Linked DNA regions of Homo sapiens: all the other regions are linked to region 2. The links are contacts of gene promoters, found by promoter capture Hi-C in human tissues and cell types (Jung and others, 2019). All regions are on one chromosome and are shown on one strand. The core of a region is centred on a gene start or on the middle of the fragment in contact, and the rest is flanking DNA. Distances in the headings are between cores, read along the strand shown.

Region 1 (2,700 bases), core at 58-2,557, 110 kb before region 2:
TCTCATTCTGCAAGTTGTCTGTTCATTCTGTTGATCATTATTTTTGCTGTGCAGAAACATTTTAGTTTAACTAGGTCCCATTTATCTATTTTTGATTTTGTTGCTTGTGCTGCTTTTGAGGTCTTAGTCATGAATTATTTACCTAGACCATTGTCCAGGAGAGTTTCCCTAGGTTTTCTTCTAGTATTTTTATAGTTTGGGGTCTTGAATTTGAGTCTTTAATCCACCTTGTGTTGAATTTATATATGGTGAGATATAGGGGTTCAGTTTCATTCTTCTGCATATGGCAATCAATTTTTCCAACACCATTTATTGAAAAGGGTATCCTTCCCCCAGTACATGTTCTTGCTGACTTTCTATTTTAATCACATGAGATTACAGAATAAATTCATTTTCTGATGGACAACAGCTTCAAGAAATAATTCCCATGGCTCCAATTCTATGAATTAGCTGGGGAATATTATTCCCCCGAACAAGTGTAAACCAAGAAAAGAGGGAACATCCTGCTCTATGAATGAGAAAGCAATGGGAAAGAGGAGGAGAAGAATGTGGAAAGAAAAGAAGAGAGAGAGGAGGATAGAAATGCTGCTAATGATACCTAATATTTCTTTAACATGTATTGCTAACTATAACAATATATAAATAAAAATATATAATTAATATTTAAAATAATTTTCTGCAATATGGATAAATCCCACATGTATAATATTAAATAGGAAAAGCTCACTGAAGAGAGTACAAACTGTTATTTGATTTTCTATAAAATTAAAAATCAGTCCAACCAACAAGGCAATCTTTATTCTATTCTAGTAAAGATTCTAAATTACAATAATACAAAGTAGATAATAAAACAATTAAAAGCCTATGTTTTCAATCCATAACTAGAGGACTGTGACTTTGTAAACACAGGGAGATATTCGTTTGTTTGTTTCCAGAAGGAAATTTTTAGGTCAAAATGAGGATTTGGCGTTCACAAAATTGCATATGCAAAGAAACAGGATAATTTTAAGAAGTATATATAAATCGCTTGCTCTTACTGGAAATCATTGCAAGTCTTTGGGTACCACTCCGTGAACCTAAATGATTACTCCTAATTTCATGAACCAATTTTCCAAACATTAAGAAAAAAAAATACTTTGTATGCTCACATTTTTCTGGACTCATTCTTGCTGTCATTAACATACCTACCCCTTCCAATTTTTACCCTCACTTGAAAGCTGTACAGTTTTTAACAATTCCCTATTCTTTTATTTCAAATACTGACCTTTGTATTTCAAAAGAAAATTCATAGTAGAGAAAGCTTTTTATTTCCTCACAAAGCAGAAGGCAAGTGATTGTTTAACATAAACTTTGAACATTTTTCTCTCTTAGTTCACATTTACTCTACTCACAGAAACTTATTGTTTTCTGAGTAAGAGGCTGTGATGAAGATGCTCCTCACAATTTAGAATAACCCTTTAACTGACTAATTTAGTTGTAGAGATAATTTCTTTTATTCTGCATTATTATACATATAAATTGTATTTTTAAAGTATTATTTTATTTGAAATGATGCATAATGTGCATATTTATGGGACTCAGTGTGATGTTTTGATATATATATATATACAATGTACAATGATCAAATTAAGGTAATTAGCATCTCCATCACCTCAAATATTTATCCGTTTATCATTTATTTGTAGTGAGAACATTAAAAATGTCTCATTTAGCTGTTTTAAAATACATGATATTATTAACTATAGTCACCTTTCTATGTCATGGAACACTAGAACATATTCCTCCTACGTAACTATAATTTTGTATCTGCTGAAGAACCTCTGCCTATTGCCTTCTCCCCCTTACACTTCCTAGCCCTTGGTAACTACTATTCTACTCTATACTTCCATGAGACCATCTTTTCTAAGATTCCACATATGAGTGAGATCATAAGATAACTACCTTATAGGTTTTCATAGTAGCCCATGTTATTTCTCATTTTATGAGTATCATGGGCTACTAGTGAGGTAAAAATGTCATTGTAAGAATGACTCATTACTGTATTTAATTGCATTAGACACAGCAATGATGCTGTTTTGACATATACATTTTATATAAAACAGAATTCATGCACCTTAAGTTTGTTGTAATTTACAAGAGATAAGCATATGACTTTGTCAGCCATGTATATATTTTTATTTCTGCAATGTTTAGTTGTCTCTTTAATGCACTTTTTGTGATTGTAGTTACCTTTTCTAATCTGTAAACACCTTAATGCCAATGTCGCTTTGATAATAATAGTAATAATTACCCAAAGTTGACAATATCTCTTCAAAATATAATTGTAAAAATGGAGAACAATGCATTAAAACTGTGTAGTCTTCATAATTCATATTTTCTTAACCATTCACATCCATCACCTCAGTTAAAGAACAATCTGTCCTTATAACTCTGTTGGAAATGTGCTTATATGTTTAGACAGATGGGTATGCCCTGAGGTTCATTTTCTAGCTTAAATGCACAATTGGCTTTATGCTCTTAAGAAGCAGCTGATGGAAAATAATTGTATATGCAAGAGCTTGTTTGGAATGTATCACGACGGAAACTCAATATGACAAATCATTCAATAGTCTTGACTCCTAAAAATAGATTTTGTATTAAGAATTCATTGTTTATAATCAATTGCACTAATTAGACTAAGCTTTTCAAAACTTATTAATG
Region 2 (2,700 bases), core at 87-2,586:
AGAAGAAACAAAACTCTCCACGGAAGTTGGAGAATGAAGTTGAGAAGGTCTCCCACAGAACAAAGCAAAAACCTAAAATGATGGAAAGAAGGATGAAATATAAGAGAATTAGAGGTATGCTGTGGCTGAGACATTTCACCAGAAAATTTCAGAGTGCTGAGGAAAAAGAGAAGATTCTAACAGATTCTAGAGAGCGGGAGACAGAGAAAGGAAAAGTCACATGGAAAGGGCTAGGATTCCACATGTCTCAAAAGTCAGACATCTCAAAAGCAGCAGTTCAGTCTAGAACATAACAGAAAATGTCTTCGAAATTTCAAGGGAAATGAATTTCCCACCTAAAATTTCCTGTCCAACCGAAGTTTCGCTGAAGAATCTGGGAGGGGAGAATGAAGATGTTTCAGACAAGCAAGATGTTAAAGAATTTCCTTTCAGTGGATGCTTTATTGTTATGCATCTGTCAAACTAGACAAGATTAAAAGATTTAGGACACTCAGCGTATGAAGGGAAAAGTTTTGGAGAACAACGTGGCAACAGCCGGAAAATTCCAACTCCTCCGGGAAAGAACAAGGTGGAAGTACCGGTTTATCATAGATCAAGACGTAGCGTGAGGACTCGCTCTGCTACGGAGAAACAGTAATACAAAACTAAACAGAAGGAAACAGCGACAACAACAGCAAATCTCAGATTTGGGAAATGGGATTACGGTTCGGAAGAGGGAAAGGAATTTCCCAGATGATGTGGAACCCGGGAGCTGACTTCCAACAAGCAGCCCAGGTTGAGGCAGGCTAGGAGAAGGTGAAACAGAGAATGCTTGATTGAGTTTGAGTGTCAACCATTGGGGAAGAATTGGGGAACAGACGAAATTAAAAAGAGAGGAGTGGCAGGCGTTTGATGTACCTTGATTAGGGGCCATGGAGCGAAGTCGCTTCGAAGGCCTTGGTTCCTCCATGAGCAATCGGCGGGAGGGGCTGGGGAGAAAAACAAGAGAGCAAGAACGGATTTAGGAAGACAGAGGTGACAAGGCAGGGGGATGGCCGTGGCCTTTCTAGGGGAATGAGGATTCTGTCCCCAACTGCACCCACCCGAGATCCGTCCACGCCTCCGGGACCCCCAGACACACACCTGATCTTCCCACAGCTGGCTCCGGAGATCTGAAAATTAGGAGACTCTTCGACGAAGAGAGGCCCGAGGAGTCGGAGGTGTCCACAGGTTCACCGCTGTAGCTCTGAGGTAGTCCACCCGCAGCCAGGGAGTCTGGAGGGAGCACGCAGCAGGTTCTGGCTCCGAGCCCAGCAGAAAGCCGACTGCTGGAGGCCGAGCGCCGTCCCTCTTATATGGCAGCAAGGCAGTCGCGTAAGGGACAGGCGTCGTCAGAGGGGGGCCGGCTGGGGCGGGCCTGGCTGGGCTTGCGAGGCGCATTGGGCCAGTCCCCTGCCAGTCAAATGGGGGCCCTTCTGAGATGCCGCCATTTCTAGACGTCCGTGGTTGATTGATTAATCTAATCATCGAGGAAAAAAAATTGCATAATGACCTCTGAGTGTCAGCACAATGAGGTGTGGTGCCCTGAAAGCGGCTGACAGGAAGATGCGATTAGCTTAGATCTGAGCATGGTCAAGGAAAGCATCCAAAGCGGGGATATCTGGGCTGAAATCTGGAACATAACGTTTGAAATTAGTCATCCTGAACCGGGTTGGGAGAGGCAGGGAGGGAGGAAGGGGAGTGAAGAGAGTGTGCTGAGGCCCGGACTGGAAGGGAGCCCGGCACATTCTGGGAATGGACGGGAGGCCAAGTCCAGGCCCGGAGGTGGTGCGTGTGAGACGGGGCTGGAGATGCGTGTGAGACCCACACCGCTGGCTTTTATTGCTGTGGGTGCACTCACGGGTGGAGGAAGACAGCGGGAAACACAGCAGGACGCTGGAGGGGATCCCACAGTGGGTTATTTGGTTGGTTTGCATCCTTGTGTTTTTTACAGAGACTGGTTCTCGCTCTGTAGCCCAGGCTGGAGTGCAGCGGTGCCATCTCGGCTCGCTGCGGCTACTTGGGGGGGTTGGGGGGGGGTGGCTGAGATAGGAGAATCAGTTCAAGTGATTCTCCTGTCTCGGCCTCCGGAGTAGCTGGACTACAGGTGAGCGCCACCACATCGGGATAATTTTCGGATTTTTTTGGAGAGACGAGTTTTCGCTATGTGCCCAGGCTTGTTTGGAAGGCCTGAGCTCAAGCCGTCCGTCCCGCTCAACCTCCCGAGTCGCTGGGACCCCAGGCGCAAGCCACCATGCCGGGCCAATTACTTTTTTGGGTTGTATTTCCTGTTGAAGTGAGGTTTTGCTATGCTTTCACCTCACATACCTTTTCTGTCCCAAGACCCCATCCAGGGTACCACCTTACAACTCGTCACGGTTCCCCTTGGCTGCGACGGTTTCTCACACTTGCCTTGTTTTTGATGACTCTGACACTTTGAATACTGATCAGATATATTGTGGGATGTCCTCTCCTGAAGTTCGTGTGATGTATTCCTTGTGATCTGACTGGAATTATATGTTTTTGTCAGGAAGATTGCAGCGGGAAAGCGCCATTCCCATCCCATCCTGTCTAGAGTACACACCATCAAGCCGGCTTATCACTGCTGCTATTAGTCCTGGTCACCGGGCTGGGGCAGTGTTGATTAGGTTTCTCCACCATAAAGTGATTTTCCCACCTCTT
Region 3 (2,700 bases), core at 25-2,524, 120 kb after region 2:
TCATTGTTAACTTGGTGTCCTTGCTGAGGGAGATGACAGGTGAAGCTTTCTATTCTATCATCTTGCTCTGTCCCTATTCCACAAATATTTCATTCATTGTTTTCTATGTTGCTATTTTTGGACATGGGAATACTAAAATCTTTGAGATCTGATCTTTCTCTTAGGTAACTTAGAGCCTACTAGGGATGATACACATGTGTAATAAACAAATGAAATAAATTGTGTAAATATTAGAACAGAAGTACAGCATACTTGATATGGGTGGGTTACAGGCATGCTAGTGGTTTAAGTAAATAAAAATGCTGTCCTTCTCTCCTACAACCCGTTAATCTTTCATCACATACCTTGTTGCAGCTTCCCATTTGGCAAGACATAAAATTTAAGAAATGAAACTAGTACAGAGACTGAAGTTGCTCATGGAAGAGTCCAAAATGTAAACATTAAGACTTGAGCATAAACTGAGTTGAGACACCGGATCTATACATGTTAATTTCTTAGCAGCCTTACCTGAATGAATCAGGAGAGAAACTGATTTTGCTACAAGCAGTGGCATATTTAATATCAAGGATATACACGTATTTTTAAAAAGTGAGAGTTGGGGGGGCACATTAGAGAATAATTTTATTTCTGCCTCTAATGGAGAGGAACATAGAAGAAGTGATTTTTATTCTTTGTTACCTTGATTAACGCTCTGAATTCTTCTGAAGGTAAAAATAATGCATGTGATTTTTCCAATTTCTTGAAGTGCTTTTTGTTTGTTTCAATTCCTGTTTTACTTTGATTTTTGAATTCACATATCTCTAGTCATCCAAAACAAGTCTTACAAACATTGCTCAGATTTCCTGCATATAATCATTTTCTCCTCACAACTCTTCTCTTCTATATCTTGTGTACTAGGAACACTTCTTCAAACTAGGAAGCAACTTTCCATTCTCCTGATATGCAATGGGAATGGCTTCATTTAATGATTGCAACATATATGCCAAAATAATTTCCGATTGTCATCTAAAATAAACTGGTGGAATGATATTTTATTTTTCATATAAATCAGTACACCATTATGTTTTAAAATGTTTTATCAAGGAATAATGTTTAGTTTAGGTACCTGAGTTCATCTTTCTTAAAGGTAAATAGTACTTTATGATCTCTTACTGAATTTCAACATGGATATATAAATGTTACCTCATTAGTCTGTTTGCACAGTATCTGTGAGACACGGTAAGTATCAAAGGCCAGATTATAGTGCTGTAAAGAAGAACTGGGCTGGTTGCGGTGGCTCACGCCCATAATCCCAGCACTTTGAGAGTCCAAGGCGAGTGGATCACCCGAGGTCAGGAGTTCAAGACCAGTCTGGCCAACGTGGAGAATCCCTATCTCTACTAAAAATACATAAATTAGCTGGGCGTGGTGGCAGGTGCCTGTAATCCCAGCGACTCAGGAGGCTGAGGCAGGAGAACCACTTGAACCTGGGAGATGGAGGTTGAAGTGAGCTGAGATTGTGCCACTGCACTCCAGTCTGGGCAAAAGAGTGAGACTCCATCTCAAAAAAAAAAAAAAAGAAAAAAAGAAAGAAGGAGAAATGACATAAACAAATAAGGAGTAAAATTGACAAACGTCAGATAAACAGTGTTAGAATTTTTGTATATGAAAATGTGTCCTCTCTCACCACATTATGCCCTAAAACATTAGAAATGACTATCTTAATATTAAAAGTCATAATAATATAAATAGCTATAAATGTATTTATTTCTATTTCTTTAATGTCATTTTGCTATATGACCTCTATAGCAGCAGGTTGTACAGCAAGAATATTCTGTCTTTTATTAAATGCTTTACTTCATTTTGGCAAAGAAAACCAAGTGAAATTATAATTTTTAGAATAAAATTATTCTATATTATGCTATCAAAAATAACATTATTTTTAGAATAATTAGAATTTTCAGATATGTGAGCTTTATTGATCACAAGATTTTGTACACCTTTTTACTTTGAAAAAGTACATTTTAAAATCATTTTTCATTTTCATAATTCACTCTTGGAATGGAATTAAATGGTGTGATAATTTAACAGAGGATTATTTCCCTGCTTTTAGCTAGATAGTGCCAAAATTATTGGAGGATAATTTTTTATAAAAGATTTTTTTCAAACACCTTTAGAGAAGAAAATACTGTAACCTCTCTTGATAACACATTCTTGTGGCTTATGATACCCACAGTCAGGAAGTACTTACTTTTCTGCAATTTAAACTTATTCCCCCTTGTCCTATATTCAGTGAATGTAGAGGAAAAACTATTCAATACTACCGTACGAGACCTTTTTCATATAACCCCAAACTAATGATGAGTCTCTCCAAGCTTTCTCTTTCTTATGCTTGAATAAACTCACTTCCGCTTACCTATTCTTCATTACACACTTTCAGTAAAGTCTAATCTTTTTTTTTTTTCCCCACATGAAGGCCTACTCAAATTTCTTCAGATCACATATCAGCTTTTATTCAGGTTCTTAGTTCTAAGACATACCACTTGAGGATTTTTTTTTTCCCCGAAAGATTCACCTGTCTACCTTACAGACTAAGTTACTTTGAGAAGGTAAGAATAACACTGAGGAGACAATTCTATAATTTATTATAATCTATTTATACCAATTAAGTTTGGAGTATCAGAGGAGAACAGTAATTCTTGAAACAACTGTAAAATAAAA

The links. Contacts are between HindIII fragments. The study calls those that stand out against the background at their distance.
Region 1: a contact is called between a fragment that was not itself captured here and the fragment with the promoter of PRR20A in region 2, in 8 of the 25 tissues and cell types used here (bladder, dorsolateral prefrontal cortex, lymphoblastoid cells and 5 more).
Region 3: a fragment that was not itself captured here is called in contact with the fragment with the promoter of PRR20A in region 2 in 4 of the 25 tissues and cell types used here (dorsolateral prefrontal cortex, mesendoderm cells, spleen and 1 more).

Annotation. Positions count from the first base shown.
Region 1 is chr13:57,246,611-57,249,310 of GRCh38, reverse strand. No RefSeq gene overlaps it. Among named protein-coding and RNA genes, the nearest start is that of PRR20E, 81 kb to the right of the region's middle. The HindIII fragment of the contact is 6,474 bases long and covers 1-2,700 here.
Region 2 is chr13:57,139,554-57,142,253 of GRCh38, reverse strand. It overlaps PRR20A (proline rich 20A), which reads right to left and starts at 1,336. Exons shown (of 3, transcript NM_198441.2): 1 at 1,123-1,336; 2 at 898-968. The coding sequence starts at 949. The HindIII fragment of the contact is 47,953 bases long and covers 1-2,700 here.
Region 3 is chr13:57,017,655-57,020,354 of GRCh38, reverse strand. No RefSeq gene overlaps it. Among named protein-coding and RNA genes, the nearest start is that of PRR20A, 120 kb to the left of the region's middle. The HindIII fragment of the contact is 5,092 bases long and covers 1-2,700 here.